Regions from separate parts of the Homo sapiens genome. Here regions 1 and 3 are each linked to region 2. The links are contacts of gene promoters, found by promoter capture Hi-C in blood cells and fetal thymus (Javierre and others, 2016). All regions are on one chromosome and are shown on one strand. Each heading gives the region's core, a stretch centred on a gene start or on the middle of the fragment in contact. The rest is flanking DNA. Distances are from core to core; before and after follow the strand shown. Region 1 holds the start of FAM135A (family with sequence similarity 135 member A). Region 2 holds the start of EEF1A1 (eukaryotic translation elongation factor 1 alpha 1). Region 3 has its middle 15 kb from the start of LMBRD1.

Region 1 (3,722 bases), core at 941-3,440, 3.1 Mb before region 2:
ATATCCCTCAGTAACTAGCACAGTATTTGGCAAATATCTAATAAGCTATATATATATATATAATGGTTGAACTGATTTGACTTTTTTTGAAGGCTCACCATGATCCTTGTCAACTTCTCCAGCCTCACATCCCTAAACAGTGGCATAGAAGTCTTAGTTTTAGTTCAGCACAAAGACCAGTTTCTTACTGTACAGCTTCTGTTCAAGCAATCCTTTTCCCTTTACTCCTCCCAACCGCCACCACAAGACATCCCACTTCAACTCTCTGGAATCATTTTCTCCTGGAAGTTTTTCCTGACCCATGACCTCTTCCCAAAGTTGGATTAATGCTTCTTCTGAGCTTCAATAGCTCTCTGTGCATTTATCTCTGCACTATACACATTACATCATAGGGTAATAATGCAAACACTCCACCCAAGTTCTTTTTCATTCATGTTGGTATCTTCCAAGATTAGCACACTGCCTGGCACACAGCAGATGAGTTAACAATGTGATTTGAATAAAAAGAACGTGGAACAGGGAAAGAATCTTGGCACACTGTGTGTTTTAGGGATGCACGGACGTGGAAATGCAAATAATTGGTTGTTTACTATATTTTCCTAAGACATGGCTGGAACTAAAAAAAAAACAGAAAAAGCCTTTCCAATTTTGAGGCTAAAGTTCAAGTCACAAAACAAGCAATAAAAGCCTGTTTAGCAAGGATAGTAAAATGGTATAGGGCTATAAAAGAAGGGACAAATTAGAAATCAGGAAAGCAGGCCATTCATACAAATGCAAATAAATTGGTTCACAGGATAAGAGGACACCCAATCATGTAAAAACTGGTACAAGCCAGGCACGGTGTCTTAGGCCTGTAATCCCAGCACTTTGGAAGGCCAAGGCGGGTGGATCACCTAAGGTCAGGAGTTCGAAACCAGCCTGACCAATATGGTGAGACCACGTCTCTACTAACAATACAAAAAGTAGTCAGGCGTGGTGGTGTGCGCCTGTAGTCCCAGCTACTAGGGAGGCTGAGACAGGAGAATTGCTTGAACTCCGGAGGCAGAGGTTGCAGTGAGCCGAGATCACATTACTGCACTCCCGCCTGGGCGACGGAGCAATGCTCTGTCTCACACACACACTCGAAAAAAAAAAAAACTGGTACAAAGATATATTCAAAACCTGTCCCCTAAATGGCCTACGTTACAAGACCTCACCATTACTTTCAAATGAATGCACAAAGCTTTTCCCTTCTAATTCATTCTTATTGTGGTAAAATATACATAACAGAAAATTTACCATTTTAACCATTTTTAAGTGCACAGTTCAGTAGCATTATGTCCATTCATTGTTGTGCAACCAACACCACTATCCATCCTAGATTCATTTTTAAAACAAGAGTCGCAGCTGAAATTTTCCTTTCATTAACTCAGCTTTAGCAACATACTGAACTTTATGCACCACAAAAGTTTTTGCCAGATAAGGTTCAGAAACAGGGAAGAGTGAAATAAATCAATGATCCTTCGTGGGCTTCTGTTAACGGAATGTATTAGCGAAAGGCTTCACTTCATCAGCCCCCTCCCGCCCTTTTTGGCGTCATAAACCAAGAAACAACCAGATCAGCACCCACATCTCCCAAGATGCAAACACTGGGTCCCGAAAGGCATCTGTCCTGCCCCGGCGCAGATCCCCTGCAGCCTCCTTTCCTACTGCACAAATCGACTAGCGCAGGGACCGGGCTCTCTACCCGGGACTGCACGGAGGAGCTAAAGAGAGAAAAGGAGAAACAACATTGTGAGAAAAACGGCTAAAGTTCTCGAACTCCGTGTTTTTGCCCTCTTCTTGTTCACTACTCTTCAACCACCTCCAAGTTCCATCCCTTAAACCCACAAGCGAGCCCCTTTTCTTGACGCGCGCCTTTTATTGACGCAAACCTCCCGTTCTCGCGGGAACTTGGGAACGGGAGCCTGGTAGGGAGGACAAATCTCTCGAAATCTCAGTTGGCGCTGGAGCTGGAGGGGCAGTTGAAGCTCCTGAAGGGCGGGGCACGGAGCTTGAAGGGGCGGGGCCTAGCCTCAGAGAGGGGAGGGAAGAGGCGGGAGGAGGAGGTGAGAGAGGCCGGGGGCGGGGCCGTGCGGCCGGGGACCTGTTGATCGCAGGTATAGCCGGCTGGCCCGGGCTCCCTCGGGACTGGGGCGACTGCGCATGCTCGCTGGCCGCGCTGGGCCAGTAGCCGAGCCGCGGTGACGAACCGGCTCCGCGGTTGCGGTGTTTGCGGTTGCTGTGATGGCGATGTGAGGGGGCCCGGGGCGGGATGGTGCTGACCCGGGTCGGGCCGTCTTCTTGCAGCTGGACAACGAGCTCCTCCGTTCGACAGGCGGGGGAAGAGGCCGAGCCGGGCGAGAGGTAACCCCCTTACTGTCCCCTCTGGCTCCCCCGGCTCCCGACACCCACGACCCCTCCCTCCGTCCCTCTTGCCCAGGGGCCAGGAAGGAAGCGGCCTCCTCTTCGTCCGCCGTTCGCCCGCCGCGGCCCCTCACCCGACTGCTGGCGGTCGGAGCCTGGCCCCGGCCCCGTTGAAGGTCGGTGGGGACGGCGGTGCGGAGCGCTCTGAGGGAGGCGAGGGGCCGCGGCGCGCTGCTCTCCCGGTGCCCGCGGCCGCCCCTGCCCCTGCGCGCGTCCCTCGACCCGTTCTTCCTGAACCTCGCGCCTAGCGTGTTTGCCCTTCACCCCTGCTCCATCTTCGTCGCTCTGTCCCTCCTTTACCCGCTTTCGTGGTTCTGCTTTTTCATCCCGCGCCTCCCACGTGTCTTTTTGCCCGGGTGGTCCCTCCTTGGGAAGCAGCGTATCTCTGTGCTTCCATCCCTTGCCTGGCTCTTCCCTGTCCGGAGCTCCTTACCCTGGCCGACCAGGTTTCTCACTCTTGTTACCTCCATAATTTCTTCCTTGGTTTTATTTTCCTCTCATCCACCTCCTTTCGGTACTTCCTCCTGGTTCCCTTTTTGTTAGTTGCCGATTGTGTTTTGCTTTAGCATCGCTTTGCATTGGAGTTCATTCCATGCCCCATCTTAGCTTCGGAAACCCTCACTGCCTTCTCTTTCCTCTGGTACCCTGCTTCATCGCTTTCTGTCTAATGGCCCCTATCCTCACGTCCTTTTCCATTCTGCACCCAGTGAGTCTCTAATCTTAATTTTTTCCCCTCCAAAACTCTTCCACCCTCCCCCCCCCATTTGTATAAGTCAAGCCTCTTAACTTCATTCCATTTGTTTTACTTTTTATTAAATCTCTGAAGACTTCTTTGTGACATACCCTTCTAGTCCTTGCTGCTTTCTGCCTAAGCTAGGTATCCACTCAATGTTTCTAGTTCATCTTCCAGTTTAATAACATTTCTTCTTTCTTTACCGGTTGGTGGAAGTATCATCAAAAGAGTGACAGTAGCAACAAATCGGTTACACTTACTGATTAAAGCTTTAATTTTTAAGAATTATGTTTACCTGGCATGCCTGGGAAAGCAACTTGAGTACAGACTAAATGAAACTATAATGGGTTAAGACTTGTTAAAGGTTGACCTACAAACATACACTTAAAATTTGGAAATTTTCTTGTCCTCCATTAGGTGTAGCTGTCCAAGAACTAATCTTAAATGAAATTTAACAGAATTTCTTTTTTAAAATGTATTATTAATTTGTTTTATACATTTGCTATTGCAATTGATTGCATAATTTTCCTGAGAGTCTCTGTTC
Region 2 (3,353 bases), core at 429-2,928:
TCATGTTTTTGATAAAGTCTCTGTGTCCTGGGGCATCAATGATAGTCACATAGTACTTGCTGGTCTCAAATTTCCACAAGGAGATATCAATGGTGATACCACGTTCACGCTCAGCTTTCAGTTTATCCAAGACCCAGGCATACTTGAAGGAGCCCTTTCCCATCTGTAAGGATTAAGAGTCGTTACTTGGTTACTAAAACACAAACTCCAGCTTCAATTTCCTTGTCCCCAGCCCTTAATTGGCAGTTTCCACTTTACAACTCCAAGTCCAAAGTGATTTTAGTCACTTTGGGTTACAGAAGCAACCAAAAATCAAACTTTTATAAGTCGGATCTTAACTATTAACATCCAAATCTACTCACTAGCAATACGATTACAGAAGTCACCAAAAGCAAAATTATTTCATAAGTAAGGTCTTAACTATTAGCATTCAGATCTAAACCACTCACTAGTTCTGGGGAAATCACCTAATGATTCTGCTGGTAAAACTCATTTTAGTTGATCTTTCCCTTTCTGGTATTAAACATACCTCAGCAGCCTCCTTCTCAAATTTTTCAATGGTTCTTTTGTCGATGCCACCGCATTTATAGATCAGATGGCCAGTAGTGGTGGACTTGCCCGAATCTACGTGTCCAATGACGACAATGTTGATATGAGTCTTTTCCTTTCCCATTTTGGCTTTTAGGGGTAGTTTTCACGACACCTGAAATGGAAGAAAAAAACTTTGAACCACTGTCTGAGGCTTGAGAATGAACCAAGATCCAAACTCAAAAAGGGCAAATTCCAAGGAGAATTACATCAAGTGCCAAGCTGGCCTAACTTCAGTCTCCACCCACTCAGTGTGGGGAAACTCCATCGCATAAAACCCCTCCCCCCAACCTAAAGACGACGTACTCCAAAAGCTCGAGAACTAATCGAGGTGCCTGGACGGCGCCCGGTACTCCGTGGAGTCACATGAAGCGACGGCTGAGGACGGAAAGGCCCTTTTCCTTTGTGTGGGTGACTCACCCGCCCGCTCTCCCGAGCGCCGCGTCCTCCATTTTGAGCTCCCTGCAGCAGGGCCGGGAAGCGGCCATCTTTCCGCTCACGCAACTGGTGCCGACCGGGCCAGCCTTGCCGCCCAGGGCGGGGCGATACACGGCGGCGCGAGGCCAGGCACCAGAGCAGGCCGGCCAGCTTGAGACTACCCCCGTCCGATTCTCGGTGGCCGCGCTCGCAGGCCCCGCCTCGCCGAACATGTGCGCTGGGACGCACGGGCCCCGTCGCCGCCCGCGGCCCCAAAAACCGAAATACCAGTGTGCAGATCTTGGCCCGCATTTACAAGACTATCTTGCCAGAAAAAAAGCGTCGCAGCAGGTCATCAAAAATTTTAAATGGCTAGAGACTTATCGAAAGCAGCGAGACAGGCGCGAAGGTGCCACCAGATTCGCACGCGGCGGCCCCAGCGCCCAAGCCAGGCCTCAACTCAAGCACGAGGCGAAGGGGCTCCTTAAGCGCAAGGCCTCGAACTCTCCCACCCACTTCCAACCCGAAGCTCGGGATCAAGAATCACGTACTGCAGCCAGGGGCGTGGAAGTAATTCAAGGCACGCAAGGGCCATAACCCGTAAAGAGGCCAGGCCCGCGGGAACCACACACGGCACTTACCTGTGTTCTGGCGGCAAACCCGTTGCGAAAAAGAACGTTCACGGCGACTACTGCACTTATATACGGTTCTCCCCCACCCTCGGGAAAAAGGCGGAGCCAGTACACGACATCACTTTCCCAGTTTACCCCGCGCCACCTTCTCTAGGCACCGGTTCAATTGCCGACCCCTCCCCCCAACTTCTCGGGGACTGTGGGCGATGTGCGCTCTGCCCACTGACGGGCACCGGAGCCTCACGCATGCTCTTCTCCACCTCAGTGATGACGAGAGCGGGCGGGTGAGGGGGCGGGAACGCAGCGATCTCTGGGTTCTACGTTAGTGGGAGTTTAACGACGGTCCCTGGGATTCCCCAAGGCAGGGGCGAGTCCTTTTGTATGAATTACTCTCAGCTCCGGTCGGGGCGGGTTGGGGGGGGTGGTGACGGGGAGGCCGCCTGGAAGGGACGTGCAGAATCTTCCCTCTACCATTGCTGGCTTAGCTCCAAAGGTTGTATTGAGATTAGGGTGTACCTTCGCCTCTCAATCAGCCTCCCGTCCTCAGCCTTGCCATCTCGCTAGTCCGGGACAAATCCCTAGAGCGTCTTCCTCTGCGGGTCTCAGCCCAGCCCGGGGTTGGCTCCTCCTCCGCCCCGGCTTCCGCGCCCCTCCCGTGTGGCAAGGAGTACCAGGCCCGGGGACCCCGAGGGGCTTGGGGCGAAGGGTCGGGACTGGGGGCCTCCTTAACGGCTCACGGACTTGCGAGAGGTTCGGCTCGATGGCCGTGAAAGCGACGAATCCGCTCCTGTGCTGGCCTCTTGGCTCCTTCCATTCAAAGCCAGCTGCTTTTATGGAAGCCCGTAACACGTCATCTCCCCCTGGTACTCCAGATGTCCAGGCTTTCAGTTTAGAATAGACTCAGTCCTACAGTTAGCTTTAGATCTAATTCTAGTTTTGTTACGCCAAAAAGTTCCTGCGAGTGTGTGTGTGTGCCTCATGGTACTTTTTAAATTAAAAGGTGTACAGTTATTTGATTGCAAACATAAGGAACCTAAAATGCTTTCAGATTTTCCACATGATCTCATGTAGAGGCTAAGATCTACAGCATCAGCAAGTTTATCCACCCAGTTTCCTAACCCCAACACTTGCTATGAAGTCACAGCTTCTCCTATTTAAATAAGTGCCTATTATATTTAAATAAGTGCTGTCGTTTTCTGTCATCCTATCGATTGTAACTGCATTTTAGCATAAATCTAGGGCAAGATTGGATGAGCTTGGCCTTTTTGGATGGCTATCAAGGCAGGCCTTGGGAAATGCTCCTCTGAGGAAAGAAGAACGTTTATTTTTAATGAGCTAATTACTAGATCATTATGTTTCTTCTTCCAGCTGTAGAATATCATTGCCCAGCTTCTCGAACAAACTTATTTATTAACAAGTATTTGAGAACCTACTATGTGGCCAACGCTAAGTACTGTGGAGTTCCTTCTGGAGAGGAAACCACAATCAAATTGGAAGAGGAAAACAAGTTGGGAAGCAGTTGAAGGCAAACGCTATGGTGCTTTCTTGGTTTCTGTATCTTTGTAGTGTAGTTTTTCTAGTCCTTTCAGTTTTCACAGTCCACTTTTTTTTCTTTCTTTCTTTTTTTTTTTTTTTTTTGAGACGGAGTTCTACTCTGTTGCCCAGGCTGGAGTGCAGTGGCGCGATCTCGGCTCACTGCAAGCTCTGCCTCCCGAG
Region 3 (3,655 bases), core at 1,001-3,500, 3.7 Mb before region 2:
AGAATGAAAGAAAGAGGAAGGAGGTAGAATACTGTCAGGGTTCCATCAAATAAACTAAACCAGTAGGAGAGAGAGAGAGAGCACATGCGTGTGAGAGAGAAAGCGAGCAAAGAATTGACTTGTGCAATTGTGGGGGCTCCTTAGGCAAGTTAGAAATTAATAGAGGAGGGCATCAGGAAGAGCAGACTGGAAACTCTCAGGCAGGAGCTGACACTGACAGTCATTGGTAAAATTTCTTCTTTCTGAGGGAAATTGCAATCTGCCATAAGTCCCTTCAATTGATTGACTCTGACCCACGGGATCATTGAGAATAATTTTATTTACAGTTGGCCCTTGAACAACACAGATTTGAACTGTGCAATTCTACTTATGTGCAGATTTTCTCCTGCCTCTACCAACCCTGAGACAGCAAGACCAACCCCTCCTTTCTCTCCTCTTCAGCCCACTCAACATGATGACAGTTAGGATGAAGACCTTTTTGACAATCCATTTTCATTTAATTAATAGTAAATATATTTTCTCTTCCTTATGACTTTATTTTCTTTTTTATTTATTTATTTTTTTGTTTTGAGACAAAGTCTCACTCTGTCACCCAGGCTGGAGTGCAGTGGCACAACCTCGGCTAACTGCAACCTCTGCTTCCCGGGTTCAAGCGATTCTTCTGCCTCAGCCTTCTGAGTAGCTGGGATTACAGGCACCTTCCACTACGCCTGGCTAATTTTTGTATTTTTAATAGAGACGGGGTTTCTCCATGTTGGCCAGCCTGGTCCCGAACTCCTGACCTCAGGTTATCCGCCCACCTCGGCCTCCCAAAGTGCTGGGATTACAGGCATGAGCCACCATGCCCAACCATAATTTTCTTAATAATATTTTCTTTTCTCTAGTTTTCATTATTGGAAGAATGCAATATATAATAAATACAACATGCAAAATATATGTTAATCAACTATTTATGTTATTGGTAAGGATTCCAGTCAATAGAAGGCTATTACTAGTTAAGTTTTTGGAGAGTCAAAAGTTATAGGCAGATTTTCAAGTGCATGGGGATTCAGCATCCCTAACCCCTAACTTATTCAGGGGTCAACTGTACTTAGTCAACTGATTGTAGATATTTATCATGTCTACAAAATACCTTCACGGCAACACATAGCATTTGAATAGTTGATTATTATAGCCAAGCCGAGTTAACATTAGAGATGCTTTTCAGAATTGTAAATTGAGAGATGTGGAGAATGATGATGCCACTAATGAAGACAGGGAACATACGAAGAAGAGAAGATTAAGGGTGAGGAATGACAGAAATAAACTGTATTTCATAGATTCTAAGATGCACTTTTCTCCTTTACATTTTAACATCTCTGATGTTAGGACTCACCTTTAAATTGATGGGATCTTACCACTATAACTGGTATATTTTGTTCTTCATCATTTATAAAATGATGGTGCATCTTACAGTCAATGTCACCTTAGAGTGAAGGAAACAAGGTAGTAGATTTTATTTGGTACCTTGGATTTGAGGTGCCTGAGGAACACGGATAGCTCTAGTTCATAGAATGTATAGGCGGGAAACTCAGCCAAGGGACCTGCCACAGAGGTATGAGTCATCTATACTCAAGTAAAAGCTGAAGCAATGAAAATGCAAAAAATTCCCAGGAAAAATTGGTAGAAGTGAGAATAATAGTCAGCTAAATAGACAACCCTAAAAAAACAGCAAACTTTAAGGAGAGAATAAAAGGAAAAGAGTGGTTAGAACTAATAATCAGAATACATCATATAAACAAAGAGAGAAGATACTTTTTAAAACTAATGAGTAGCTGTCAATACCAAATATAGTGAGAGGACTAGCAAGTGCCCACCGAGTATGGCAACATGAGTGGGGGGGTCATTAACGAATTTTCTAGAATAATTCCACTGGAGTGGATAGGAAGCAGACAAGTTGCACTGGCTTAGAGGAATGAAGGAGAATTAGGAAAACGGAGGTCATGAATGTAAAATATTCTTTCAGGAAGCTTGACTAAAAAGGGGTGGAATAATGAAAAAGTTAAATAGAGAGGATAAGGTCAATGGTGATTTCTGCAGAAGTGACTCAGATTTGAACTCATTTCTAAGAAACGTAGAAAAGGCGTGGGCCACTCTTATGTTACTAAACCAAACAGGGGTCCCATTGCCCAGTGCAGTAAGGCCAAATATTCATACCGAGGTTGCTTTGCAGCAGGAGAAAGGAGGGCCTTTATTAGTAGGGTACCAAGCAAGGATAATTGGGCAGCTGAAATGTAAGACCCAAACTTCCAGATGGCTTGCAAGCAAGGGTGTTTAAAGGCAGAGGTAAATTTCAGGAAAGCAGAAGTTATAGGCAAAACTATAAATCAACACATAGAGGTGATACATTGGTTTGGCCTACAAAGGTGGAAGCAGAGTCAGGTGGGGCAGGGTGCTTCCAGGTCATAACTGGATTTCAAAGATTTTCTGACTTGCAATTGGTTAAAGAAGAGAAGCTTTGTTTAAAAATTTGGGATCAGAAGAAAGAAATATTAAGTCTGGCCTGTGGGCGTGACTTCCTCCATGCCCCTCAGGAAGAAATTTAAAGCAAGAGTTCAGTCCTCAATTACCTCTTATTTGAGGTCTACATGCCAGGGAATCCATTTGGTGGGGGTACCAGCTTCTAAGAAACAACTCAGGGACATATATTCTGATGTTCTCTTTAGTTTCTACAGGGTGAAACCGCCTTTGCAAAATTATAACTGAGGAAATTATGACAGTGACAGAAATCACACCTAACTGATTCCATCTGGCTCCTAATCTTTAAGCTGTCCTTCTTCATTCCTGAGGATAGGCCAAACTAATTTTGAGAAGGAATTCAGTTCATGGCTTGATTCTGAAACAAAATTGATAATAGACCTTTCCTGAAAAGACCCCTTCCTTGCCTGGGTACCAGTCTGCCTTTGCAGGACTAACAAATTAGCTACAAGATTAGAAATTACAGTTTAGGGGCATGCAGCCTCTGGCTCCAAGTTGCTGGGGATAACATCACTATTGCAAACCTAAGATCAGTGCTTGAGATATTTTGCAGAATCTGCACTGGATGGATCAGCAGACACCACCCAGACCAGTAATCTGGCTCAACCAGTTCTACCATCTCACCCAGATGAACAGAAAACAGCAAGAAAAAGTCAACTTCGACCCCCTATGGTTCCATCTCCAACCTGACCAATCAGCACTCCCCACTTCTCAAGCCCCTACCTGCCAAATTATCTTTAAAAACTCTGATCCTCAAATGCTCAAGGATATTTGATTTGAGTAATAATAAAACTCCAGTCTCCTGCACAGATGGCTCTGTGTGACTTAGTCGTTCTGCCTTGCAGTTCCCCTCTCTTCATAAATCGTCTCTGTCTAAGCAGTGGGCAAGGTGAATCCGTTGAGCAGTTACAAGGAAACCAAACATCTCAGAACTCTAATTCCCTTGGCTATAGTTTTAAGCTACTCTTGCCTTCTTGCTTATCAAGTTGCTCATTTACTTCTTAGGGCTAACCAGGTGTCTGGAAGTTCCCTTAAAGGAATTCAATATTTTTCTTTATTTCCATGTTTGGCAAGGGGAGCAGGCAGCAGCCCCCTAAGAAAGGTTCTTGCTTTGTCTCACTGAACACATGAATTTAAG

The links. The method cuts DNA at HindIII sites, captures the fragments that hold promoters and counts their contacts. A CHiCAGO score of 5 or more calls a contact.
Region 1: the fragment with the promoter of FAM135A here is called in contact with the fragment with the promoter of EEF1A1 in region 2 in 4 of 17 cell types (naive B cells, total CD8 T cells, fetal thymus and 1 more); the score reaches 8.4 in naive B cells.
Region 3: a contact is called between a fragment that was not itself captured here and the fragment with the promoter of EEF1A1 in region 2, in 1 of 17 cell types (non-activated CD4 T cells). The highest score is 7.1, in non-activated CD4 T cells.

What each region holds. Positions count from the first base shown.
Region 1 is chr6:70,411,318-70,415,039 of GRCh38, forward strand. It overlaps FAM135A (family with sequence similarity 135 member A), which reads left to right and starts at 2,191. Exons shown (of 22, transcript NM_001162529.3): 1 at 2,191-2,385. FAM135A-AS1 (FAM135A antisense RNA 1) reads right to left here and starts at 2,641. Exons shown (of 2, transcript NR_147708.1): 1 at 2,520-2,641; 2 at 1,511-1,745. RefSeq lists silencers at 1,998-2,217, 2,558-2,707. The HindIII fragment of the contact is 2,225 bases long and covers 1,221-3,445 here.
Region 2 is chr6:73,519,354-73,522,706 of GRCh38, forward strand. It overlaps EEF1A1 (eukaryotic translation elongation factor 1 alpha 1), which reads right to left and starts at 1,679. Exons shown (of 8, transcript NM_001402.6): 1 at 1,647-1,679; 2 at 530-703; 3 at 1-163. The coding sequence starts at 673. RefSeq lists enhancers at 17-839, 797-1,096, 840-1,661, 1,387-1,496, 1,547-1,626 and 1 more and a silencer at 2,207-2,436. The HindIII fragment of the contact is 5,848 bases long and covers 1-3,353 here.
Region 3 is chr6:69,809,837-69,813,491 of GRCh38, forward strand. No RefSeq gene overlaps it. Among named protein-coding and RNA genes, the nearest start is that of LMBRD1, 15 kb to the left of the region's middle. The HindIII fragment of the contact is 486 bases long and covers 2,008-2,493 here.